Linked DNA regions of Homo sapiens: regions 2 and 3 are each linked to region 1. Evidence: promoter capture Hi-C in 16 types of primary human blood cells and fetal thymus (Javierre and others, 2016). All regions are on one chromosome and are shown on one strand. Each heading gives the region's core, a stretch centred on a gene start or on the middle of the fragment in contact. The rest is flanking DNA. Distances are from core to core; before and after follow the strand shown.

What was found. The method cuts DNA at HindIII sites, captures the fragments that hold promoters and counts their contacts. A CHiCAGO score of 5 or more calls a contact.
Region 2: a fragment that was not itself captured here is called in contact with the fragment with the promoter of RRAGD in region 1 in 5 of 17 cell types (neutrophils, fetal thymus, naive B cells and 2 more); the score reaches 9.1 in neutrophils.
Region 3: a contact is called between a fragment that was not itself captured here and the fragment with the promoter of RRAGD in region 1, in 1 of 17 cell types (fetal thymus). The highest score is 5.1, in fetal thymus.

Annotation. Positions count from the first base shown.
Region 1 is chr6:89,410,202-89,414,214 of GRCh38, forward strand. RRAGD (Ras related GTP binding D) reads right to left here and starts at 2,072. Exons shown (of 7, transcript NM_021244.5): 1 at 1,645-2,072. The coding sequence starts at 1,792. RefSeq lists silencers at 1,029-1,128, 1,159-1,268, 1,299-2,488. The HindIII fragment of the contact is 2,415 bases long and covers 557-2,971 here.
Region 2 is chr6:88,984,365-88,988,377 of GRCh38, forward strand. No RefSeq gene overlaps it. Among named protein-coding and RNA genes, the nearest start is that of RNGTT, 23 kb to the left of the region's middle. The HindIII fragment of the contact is 4,992 bases long and covers 1-4,013 here.
Region 3 is chr6:89,119,985-89,123,997 of GRCh38, forward strand. It overlaps a transcript of PM20D2 not described here. Among named protein-coding and RNA genes, the nearest start is that of SRSF12, 3.9 kb to the left of the region's middle. RefSeq lists an enhancer at 2,791-2,920. The HindIII fragment of the contact is 1,406 bases long and covers 1,083-2,488 here.

The DNA of each region.
Region 1 (4,013 bases), core at 822-3,321:
GGACCCTCCAGGCCTCAGGACAGTATCAAATTACAGGGCTTTCCCTCCTGGATATGGCCCCTCCGCCCCCCCACTTTTTTTCTTTTTTAAAAAAGAGAATCCCACACACACCCTACTGTGTCCACCATTTCAAATACCTTGCAAATACATCCCTATTCTGCATCTCTCCGGAGTCTTCTAAGAATCTGGGAGGAGCTAACAAATGGAATTTGAATAATAATGAGGCGACTGAACAATTTAATTACGGAAGGTAGCTCTAGAGACTCCAATAAAACGGCTGAAAGCCTTTATCTACAAAAATGTGGCCTGGTGCTCAACGGTAAGACCAATTACCGGGAGTGCAGAAGACAGAAAGCACAAAGGTGCACACATCAGTTTAAGCAAATGAGGAATTAGCACAAATCATCCCAAGAGAGAAAACGCTATGAAAAAGGGTGACTTGAGAGGCTGCTTTCTCATCTACCAGGCGCAAGGCATAGTTAACTTTATTTCCTTTCTGATTCATTGAAAGTCGTGCCTGCCAGATGTAGAATAATGAAACTACCCTAGTGAGAAAAGCTTTGCATAGAGAATTTAAAATAAGTTCAGTGAATTCTCAATAAAAGTTCTTTAAAAATCAATAGTCACAAAGGTACTTGTATCTCTCACACAATTTCTTCAGTGTGAAACATTAAAGTTAGTTCCTTCTCTTGGATGCATACAGTTTCACTGAGAATAACATCATGTTTAACAGCCGCTTTCTATTGACCTTTCCAAGTGACCTTACAGTAAAGGAACTTTTGCTCGCTTCTGAGGGAAACTAAAAAAAGTTTAACCTCTCTGGAATACTAAAAGGCTCTCAACTTCCTTACACCTTAAGAAAATGCAGGAAGCCCCCACAAGCTGAACGATTGCTAAAACCCGCTTCTAGAACAGGAAAAAGAGTTTGCTTCACTATTGAAGCAAAGAATTCCCCGCCGCGCGCTCACTCCCGGGCAGGCACTGCCATGTCCAGGTGGTGATACCGAGAGCAGATAAGGTGTCCTGACAACGGTGTTTGCGTGGATCCCGGGAAATCTGCGGCCTCTCGGAGACTCCCACAACAGCTTGGCGAGCATCCCCCCGCCGCCCCGCGGGTCTCCCCAGCCACTACCTGGGTGGGCCCCTCCCGCGGCGACGCGGGGCGAGACTGACACCCGCAGCTGCCGACGACCCTGCCAGTCACGCCGCCGCCGGCTGCCTTTTTTTAGCCACGACATCTGACCCTGGCTTCAACAGCACCGTTCTGGGAGAGAGGTCCCAGGGCGCGCCCGCGGTCCCCTCCCCTCCCCAACCGCCAGACGCTGCGGAGAGCTTGGGGTGAGGGGCGCGGGAGGCACCGGCTCTGAAAGGGGCAGAAGCGCGCGCTCCTCCAGCCCAGACGCTTACTCCCTCCTTCCCCTTTTCCACCGATCCTGGTTGCCCCTCCGCCACCAGCACCGCGCTCCCTCATTTGGCAGCTCGAGGTCGGGCTTTTGGCGTCCCTCCCCACCCCAAACCCTCAACTGGACCCGCTCCCCTGGACCCCCTCCAAGTCGGTGGCTCGCGCACGGCCGGGCTGGGGGCGGGAAGGCGCCAAGGGGAGGAAAGGGGCGCGAGCCGAGGACGCGGGGGCCGGGCGCTCACCTCCCTCCTCTGTGCCGCTGTCCGGATCGGCGTCGGAGGAGTCGGGCCCGTCTCCGTAGTCCGCTAGCCCCACCAGCTCATCCTCCTCCTCCTCCTCCTCCGCGTCGTCCTCGTCCTGCGGCTGCGGCTTCCCCAGCACCTGGCTCATCGTGCCCACCGGCCGGCCGGCCCGGGGACGGCGGGGGTCCCGGGGTGGGGGCCAAGCCTCCTAGCCGGCCGCCCGCAGCCTATTTCTGAAGCGGAGGTTTGTCTAGAGCTCAGCGGGGCCCGGCGGAAGCGGGGGCCGCGCGTCCCCCGGCGGGCGGCGCCCAGGTCCGGGTCCCGCGGTTCCCAGCGCGCCCGAAGCCCCCTCCCCCGCCCCGCCCGCCGGCGGAGGAGTCAGCCGGAGCGCGGCAGTTCCTCCCGGAGGAGGGAGAGAGAGAGAGACTGCGTGACCCGAGTCACCTGACACACACTGTCACATACTCACATACACACCCCGCACGGGCGCGCGCGCGCTCGCCCGGCCGCGGGCACCACTCGGCGGGGCGCTGGGCCGAGGACACACATGCACACGCACACGCACACGCACGAGGAGACCGGGGAGGCGCGGGGCCCCTGCACCCTCCCAGACTCACACCGACACACGCCCCGTACACGGGGCCCCCGGGACGCCGGCCGTCACCCACCGCGGCTGCGCGCCAGGGGCCCCCACGCGCCTCTCCTTCACGTGGTCCCCGCACAGGCAGGGGAGGGGGCGCCGCACACCCTCAATGTCCCCCCCGCCGTCCCACTCCCACACGCCCGCAGAGCGTCTACCGTGGGCGGATGCCTCCTGCTTACAGTCCTGAGCTAGGGTCCCAAGCGGGTGGCCTCCCAACACTGTGGCGCCCAGATCCCCCACCCCAGAGCAGCGTGCCCAGGACACCCTGTGGACGCTCAAGAGCCCCAGGCGGAGAACTCAGATAAATGCACAGTGGAGGCGCAGTCTCCATAGCAATTGTCTTTTAGTGTGCCTTTATGGTTCAAAGTGCTTCCCACCAAGAATATTTAAAAAGCAGGCCTACCCAGACGTAAATGTTTCTGAAGAAATCACATGACTCGTGGCTGCTTAGACTAAATAATTCCTCTGCAGCCCTTTGGAAAAGGTCTCAGTGTATAACACACTCGGGGGCTATTCATGGCCACCTCCTCATGTCTCATTGTTGCATAGACTGTAATCCCACATGAATAAAATATTTCAAGGCTTTTGTGGGAGTAGGGGAGTGGCGGTGGTGGGGGGGCAATTCTCAAATAGGAATAGCAGCAACGTGGAGTGAGACTCTAAAACCTGCATTCCTCCTTCACAAGCTTTTCACCACGGAACACACTGTACCCACCCTTTCTGGGTACTGCAAAAAATTACGTGGATGAACTTCCTTCTGTGGAGCACAATAAGAAAAAACCGGCCGGTCAGCATGATGATCCAGCTCCTACAGGTGCCAGCAGCTCAGCCGGTGGTGCGGTGCAGAAGCGGAGGGAGGAAGCTAGGGCAGGAGACTCTCAGGGCCCAAGGGTGCTAACCTCCATAGGAAACATTTATTAACCACCTCCTATATGCCTGAGGCTGGGCTAAGTAGAGGGTCCAAGAATGCTCAGGGCAGTGTTCCTGCCCTGAAGGAGCTCACAGTCTACCAAATCATGACTCATGTCCTGGATTTTTTTTAGTATTTCTGAGTGCAGAAGGTGGATGCAGACACTTTCCAGAAGGTGGCTGCTTCTAATGGGAAAGGTCCTGAGATTTTCCAAGGGAGGCAGGCAGTATAATTTGGTATGACTGTATCAGTTAAGGTTCTTCCCAGGATGAAACAGACGGTATGTGCAAAGACTTTAACTGAAGCCTTCAAGTGAAGGAACAATTTACAGGGGTGTGGACAGAGTTTAGGGAATCAATGCAGGTATTAGCGATAGTGGGAAGATAACACCACCCCTAAATTTACAGGAGTGAGGAAGGGAGCTAGAGTCCTGGAGAGGGGCCACAAAACAGGAGCTGTAACTGATGAGGAAGCTGCTGCTGCCAGAACGGCCTCACATCAAGGAGAGAGCAAAGACCTCTCTTTCTCTCCATCCATCCTCCCTCCACTCTCCTGTGTCTCCCATTGGCCAAACCCATCTGGTAGCCAGAAGGCAAGGGAGCCTGGAACCTAGTCCAGGACAGAGATTGGATAGGGAGGGCAGGGAGTGGGTCCCTGGGTGGGGTGAGGTGCAAGGAGCATCACCAACACAAGCAGGCACTACATACTCCCATCAGAGGCAAGTTACTTATGCCCTTCTAAACCCGATTGCTTATCAATAGAACATCACTCCTTCTAAGGATTATTAGGAAGATTAAATGAGGCGGAAAAAAAATC
Region 2 (4,013 bases), core at 1,133-3,632, 430 kb before region 1:
ACATTTCCTATGTAGCATCTGATATGAAGCTGATGCTTTAAGTCTTTGCAACATGAAACCATCATTTTTACCTAATTACAGGCATCCTGTTTCCCAGGCAAATAACCTCTCTCTATACTGGATCACTCTTACTTCTTTGCAGATATCACTTGCTTGCTAGGGAGTTATTAAGTAAATGATAGCATGTGCTGAAGATCAATTTGTTTGAGAAATTTGCATTTACTCTATGTAGTACTTTACAATTTACAGAAGCATTTTCACCTATGTTAACTCATTTCATCTTTAAAAATGTAGTGAATTGGATAGGGAAGATATTATCTTTCTTATTGCAGATGAAAAGACCAGAAAGTTGTGACATACAGGAACACAACCAGTGTCTCCTGACTTTAAGTTTCAAGCACTTCTTACTGCACCACATTGCTTTCCTACTCATGGTTCAATGAGCGTATCATTTTGTGAGCAAAGAGCATGCCTAAGTTGTACATTAAAAATAGGGTGGCTAGGCGTGGTGCCTCATGCCTGTAATCCCAGCACTTTGGGAGGCCAAGGTGGGTAGATTGGCTGAGTCCAGGAGTCACAGACCCGCCTGGGCAACATGGCGAAACGCATCTCTACAAAAAAATACAAAAATTAGCTGGGCATGGTGGCGCACACCAAGATCACGCCACTGTACTCCAGCCTGGGTGACAGAGTGAGAACCTGTCTCAAAAAGAAAAGCCAGGTTGAGGGAAGAAGGAAGTGGAACGAGCTTGGGATCACCTTAGAAAAAACAAGGAAATAAGAGTAATAAATCAAGGCAAATTAATGGCCAGGGAAAATCTTAAGTTTCTGGTGACATATTTCAATACTCCAGGTTTTGGTTCTATAGAATCATAATCTCAAATATCATTGACTCACTTCTAGAATGGATATCTTAAATTGGGCCCTAGTTTTAGGCTCATATAAAGCACATTCAAGTCTAGTCCATTCAATCTATTCAAACATCTACTAAACTTTCTCTGTGTGAGGAATTTCAGGAGATACAAAGATTAAGGCACATTCTTGAACCATAAAAAGCCTATTATTAGTAGGGAGGGCTTACTTTAATTATTCATGTATTGGTTCACTTAAAAATATAGTTTAGCACCTTGCTATGTGCCAAACACTATCCTAGGTAGACAAGAACAACAATGAACAAGACAAGGGCCCTGACCTCAAGGACTTTACTTGGCCAGTATAGAATACGGGAAAAATAGTGGGGCCGCTGCCCAAGTTACCAAAGAATCACAGTGAAGGGTATCTATCCCAATCCTGAAGAGTCAAAACACAGTTCCCAGGAGGAAGGGACATTTAAGCTGGGCCAAGTTAGGGTAGGGGAAGGGCCATAAATGCAAAGGCCTAGGGGCTATGGTGAGCTGGTAAATGTTTAATAACTCTCTAGAGAGAAGCAAGAATGCCCTAATTTGTAGATTTTGCCAGTTTCCTTGATTTACTCCCACCATGACCTCACTGAACATGCAATTGGGAAGAGACATGCACCATACGCTCTCACACTCCCACACAAATCAACTCTAGAACACCACTGCTTACAGATAAAAGTATGGTACTTCTGGGCAATGTCAAGCCCATCTATAGAATGGGAACTGTGTGTGTGTGTGTGTTTGGGGCAGTGAGCAGGGGAGGGAGTGGAGGTAGAAAAGGGAATGGTGGGAGGGAAGGCTAGGGAGGGAGGGAACATGCCCACATGCCACTTTAAAGAGTTTGGACTTTATCTGGGGCTGTGCAACTTCATCAAGTAAACATGAGTCACTGAGGTAAATATGGAGTCATTGAATGGTTTTAAGGAAGGGGGTGACCTTGTTGAGAGTGATACCTATTGTTTACAGCAATAGCCTATTTTTCCCTTCTAGAGAAAGAGGATTTTGTCTGTTTTCATCCCAGCCATATCTCCAGTCCTTAGAACACAGCCTGCCATAACGTGACCTCTCCACAAGAAACAAGAGACTGCTTCCAGTGCTCTGGAGTATGAATGAGAAGTCATGAAGTCAACCTAGAGAGTGGAGACAGTGAGTGAGATAATATCTATAGCAAAGGGAGCAAGGAACTAAAGCAGCCACTGTCAGCTAACTTGAAGTCAAAGGGTTGATTCAGGGATTTTTTAATATAAAAGAAATGTGGCCAGGCATGGTGTCTCATGCCTGTAATCTCAGCACTTTGGGAGGCTGAGGCAGGAGGACTGCTTGAGCTCAAGAGTTCTAGACCAGCCTGAGCAACATGGCGAGACCCTGTCTCTATTAAAAAACAAAAATAAATAAATAAAAGAAATAAGTCAGGTGCAGTGGCTCACACCTGTAATCCCAGGACTTTGGGAAGCCAAAGCGGGTGGATCACCTGAGGTTGGGAGCTCACGACCAGCCTGACCAACATGGAGAAACCCCATCTCTACTAAAAATACAAAATTAGCCAGGCATGGTGGCGCATGCCTGTAATCCCAGCTACTCGGGAGGCTGAGGCAGGAGAATCGCCTGAACCCAGGAGGCGGAGGTTGTGGTGAGCCGAGATCATGCTATTGCACTCCAGCCTGGGCAACAAGAGCGAAACTCCATCTCAAAAAAAAAAAAAAAGAAAAGAAATAAATATAAAAGAAATTTGATTACATTTAAGTGACTATGACAAAAAGCCAGTGGAGAAAAGAGGGAATAACTGATTAAACAAACTTTACTAATGCTTTAAAAATAATATTAAATGCATTTAAATAACTATATACCACACAATTTAATTAAAAAATAAATAGAAATTTAAACTACAATTTAATTAATATAAACAAATTTAATAAGATTAAGCACATTTTATTAAGGCTAAAAAGCCATGGAATTGCTTTGAGAGCAAGATCTTTGTCTGTTTTACTCACTGCTATATCCCCGGTACCTAGAACAATACCTGGAACATAGCAGATGCTCAACAAATATTTGCTGATTGAATGAATGTATGACTGGATAAAAGTAACCATTCATTGGGCACTTACTTTGTGCCAGGATCAAATGATTTTCATGCATATTATCCTCAATTCTCACAACAGCCTTAGGAGGTAAACGATTATTTTCATTTACTAATGAGGAAAGAGAACTTTAGTGAGATTTAGAAACTTGCTCATAATCACACAGCTACTGAGTGACAGACATGGAACTTATTCCAGGTCAATCTAAATCAAAGCTATGCTTTTAAGAGCAACTGTGATTTTAAGTGTCTGGATTTTTTTTTTTTTTTTTCTGAGACAGGGTCTTGCCTGTCGCCCAGGCTGGAGCGCCGTGGCTCATTCACAGCTCACTGCAGCCTCTACCTCCTGGGCTTAAGTGATCCTCCCACCTCAGCTTCCCCAGTAGCTGGGACTACAGGTGCATGCCAATGCACCCAGCTAGCTTTTTAAATTTTTTGTAGAGACAAGGTCTCACTATGTTTCCCAGGCTGGCCTCAAACTCCTGAGCTCAAGCCATCCTCCCATCTGGGCCTCCCAAAGTGCTAGGAGTACAGACAAGAGCCACCACACCTGGCCCTAGCGTTCAAATAGTTAAATATCTGAAGCAAAAACTGAAAATATTTGAGAAAGGAAAAGGAAAACTTTTGGTTCCTTGTGTCACCAGAATACATAGAATAGAGGAGCTAATTATAGAAAGAATAGCATAGCAGTTAAGCGTGTAGCCTGTGGAGCCACATGCCTGGGTTCAAATCCTAGCTCTAATGCTCACTAGCTGTGCAACTTCATCAAGTTACTTAACCTTTCTGTGCACTGGTTCCCTCCCCTATAAAATGGAGATAATGATAGCACCTACTTCATGGGATGGTTAGGAGAACTAAATGAGTTTATACATGTAAAGCACATGGAAAAAAAACCATTTTGTGTTTGCTGTGATTGTTATAGCCTATTTTTCCCTTCTAGAGAAAGAGGATTTTGTCTGTTTTCATCCCAGCCGTATCTCCAGTCCTTATAACACAGACTGCCAAAATGGGGCTTCTCCACAAATGTTTATTTTTGT
Region 3 (4,013 bases), core at 536-3,035, 290 kb before region 1:
GGCCTCACAATCATGGTGTAGGGCAAAAGGCACATCTTACATGGTGGCAGACAGAGAATGAGAGCCAAGCGAAAGGGGTTTCCCCTTATAAAACCATCAGATCTCGTGAGACTTATTCACTACCAGGAGAACAGTATGGGGAACTGCCCCCATGATTCAGTTATCTCCCTCTAGGTCCCTCCCACAATACGTGGGAATTATGGGAGCTAACAATTCAAGATGAAATTTGGGTGGGGACAGAGCCAAATGATATCAGCCATCTATCCTATCCAGTTCTATCTCTTATAAGGACATTTGTCGTTGGATTTAGGGCCCACTTGGTTAATTCAGAATGATCTCATCTTGAAATCCTCACTTACATCTGCAAAGATTCTTTTTCCAGATAAGGATACATACCTGGAGATAGGACTTGGACATGTATTTTTGGGGGCCGCCATTCAAACCACTACATTGACTTTGCAAATAAAAAACTTGACCAAAGAAAAGAAACTTGACCTGGTGGGTAGTCACAATTACTCATCCCTGACATACTGTTAAGTGGAGAAAAATCAATTCATGAGACATGTAAACGATTAACCTATTTAGTTAAAAATATATTGGCCAGGCGTGGTGACTCATGCCTGTATCCTGGTGCTGTGGGAGGCCAAGTTGGGAAGATTGCTCCAAGCTAGAAGTTCGTGACCAGCTGGGCAACATAAGAGAATCTCCCCATCTCTACAGAAAATTAAAAAAAAAAAAATTAGCCAACCATGGTGGCACATGCTTGTAGTCCTAGCTGCTCAGGTGGCTGAGGCAAGAGGATTGCTTGAGCCCAGGAGTTGGAGGCTGCAGTGAACTATGTTTGTGCCAGTGCACTGCATTCCAGCATGAGTGACAGAGCAAGACCCTGTCTGTAAATAAATAAATAAATTTATCTGTATGTTCATGTATAAATAGAATTTTTCTATTCTATTTTTACCTATTCAGGTATAGGTATTATACTCTGATACTTGCTTTCTTCTTATCTTTTAGTATTGTCAGATTTTTTTAATGCTTTTTATAAATATAGAAAAAAACCACAAAGCTCTTTACAGTTTGAAAAAAGCTTTTGTAGGAGTATCCAAAAATACTTAGCATGCATGTATGGATAGGGGGTGTTTTTTCTGTTCCTTTTGATGGAAATACCTGAGGAAAGGGTCTTCAACTGTGTAAGGAGTTTCTCTTAGCAACTTGAACTTAAAAGGTAGCTGGAATTGATATAAAATAAGTTGTGGAGCCATAATTATTTATATTACATAAAAACGTATGTTCTTTTTTCCAGATATGATTTGAGGCAGCTAGTGTAAAGTGTAAGAAAGCTGTTTTCTGGTTGGAAGGCCTAAGGAGAGAACATCGTCGGGCACGGCCAACTAAGGAATGTTACAGTCAGCTTGGCCAGTGTCTTGCCCTGGTCCTTAAACCAGTTGAGATGAGTAACTGATGAAGCTGTATTTTGTCTTCCCTTTGGCAGATTAGGATACTTGAAGAGGTAGGGGAAAGGCTTAGGTCAAGAGTAAACACCCTGCCTGTCCCTGGACTCATAAACATATTCATATTTACCCTTTGTTCTAGAACTTAAGTGCCATTTAACAAAAGTATTGCTTTATTGAATCATTGCTTTAAGGCACCAAATGGTACCCTCCAGGCTTAGGAGAGTTAATGTTTTTCTTAAATTGCCTGAGGATTCCCAAGGAGTATACCACTGGCAAATCTGACAACTGTTCCCATAACAAAAGCCTCATTTTTACATGAGAGTTTCATATATTGTTCTTCGAAGTAACTGTTGCTTCCATTACTTTTTATTTAATACATTTAAAAAATTATGATCAATTAAATGCTTTTTAAGTTTTCACCTAAGAGAGACTTTGATTTGAAAATATTTTAGGAAAACCTGTGTCATATCTCATTTAGATATCATCACCTGACTTTTCAAAAGTAAATACATTTTAAACTTTTTCATTGGAATCACGGTTTTATAAAGTGTATTGCAAGAAAAATTCAGAATCTCTTTTCAGTTTTACAAGTCTTTAAAATTAGTAGTCTATGTTGTGTTTAAAATAGAGCCACATGTGAATCTATTTATAATGTTTGGTTGTTTACTCCTGAATCCTGTCTTTGGGGAAATTGCTGATATGACAATAACTTACTGTCATTTAGAATCTAAACACTTAGGACTTTCCTCTTATCTCTACCTACCTGCACATAGTCTGAGCTGACTATCTCTTACATTCTTTTTGTCTCTTAGAAACATCTATTCTGAATGGTACAGGAGAAGCACAAACCTCTCAATATCATCAGTAGATTTGTGGGAGAAGAGTTTGGGTTATTAGTAAAGTTCACAATTCAAGGCTGTCACTATTTCTTCCTAATTACCATGGATAATCAAGAAGTTGAGGCAGGTTTACAATGTTGAGCAATACATACGATATTTGTTATTCTAAAGCAATCTGATAGAGTATGTGGTTGAATAAGCTTTTCTTCCATTTCTTAAATGGCTCAGAATGGGCTAATTATCAGGTCTAATCAAGAAGTCAAATAGTAAAAGACTGATTAATATTTTAACTGCATTAAACAATACATCTGATTAATATCTTAATCAGATTAATTAACTAGTTTTGTTTATTACTGTCATAGTGGATAACTAGAACTAATTGAAAATTAAATTGTATTTAGGTAGGTATTAGTGTCTTGAAATTTGTGTGATTAAAAAGTACCTTGAAGAAACAGTGTCAGGATTAATGAAGTCAACAGAGAATATCATTTTATGTTGTGAACTCACTCTCCAACAGATGGTGCTAGCTTTCCTCTAGTGAGAGCTGCCATGGCCTATCCTTTCTTAAAACAAACCATGAAGAGTGATGTGGGGATTTGTATAGAACACATTGTAAACATTTTTCTATTACCTATGTACTTTGGTTTATAAGACATCATCATTCCACACAATCAGTTGGAGAATCTATGATTGTATCCTTTTATGAATTTGATCTCTTCTGCTATAGCCATAAGAAATCATGTTTTTAAAAAGGTCATTTGTGTGATAATAATGTAACTAGGAGGGATCAAACTAACTTTTTCAGAAAAGTCAACTTAGAAGGCCTGTCACTTTTCCTGTATATTCCCTAAAATGATGTTGGGTATTGAAAATCTTGGGGGGGTGTTTCTTTCTAATTAATTTGCCATTTGCTTAGTGTTGATCTATTGTATGTGAAGCACAGTGCTAGGAACTGGGGATGAAAATAGAAGTTATGCTCCTTAATTCTCAAGGACCTAGTCCATTGTTTCCCAAACTTAAGTCGTTTTCATCCATCCTGTGAGATTTTTGCCATAATGATGTACTTCTTTACCATAATATGTTTACTTTAAATTAGCTCACTTTTATTTAAAAAGAAAGCTCTATCACCAATATTAATTTTTAAAGTTTTATGGACAGAAGGAGAGCCAGGCACAGTTGCTCATGCCTGTAATCTCAGTGCTTTGGGAGGCTGAGACAGGAGGATTGCATAAGGGCAGGAGTTTGAGACTAGTCTGGGCAACATACGATACCTCATCTCTAATAAAAATAAAAACAAATTAGCTGGGCATGGTGGTGTGTGCCTGTAGTCCCAGCTACTCAGGAGGCTGGAGCACAAGAATCTCATGAACCCAAGAGGTGGAGGTTGCAGTGAGCTGAGATCGTGCCACTGCACTCCAGCCTAGGCAACAGAGTGAGACTGTCTCAAAAAAAAAAAAAAAAAAAGGTTTATAGACAGAAGGAGAGCCAGGCACAATGGCTCATGCCTGTAATCCCCGTGCTTTGGGAGGCTGAGGCAGGATGATTGAGGCCAGGAGTTCAAGACTAGTCTGGGCAACATATGATAACTCATCTCTAGTAAAAATAAAAACAAATTAGTTGGGCATGGTGGAGTGTGCCTGTAGTCCCAGCTACTCTGGAGGCTGAGGTGGGAGGATCACTTGAGTCCAGGAGGTTGAGACTGAAGTGAGCTGTGTTCGTGCCA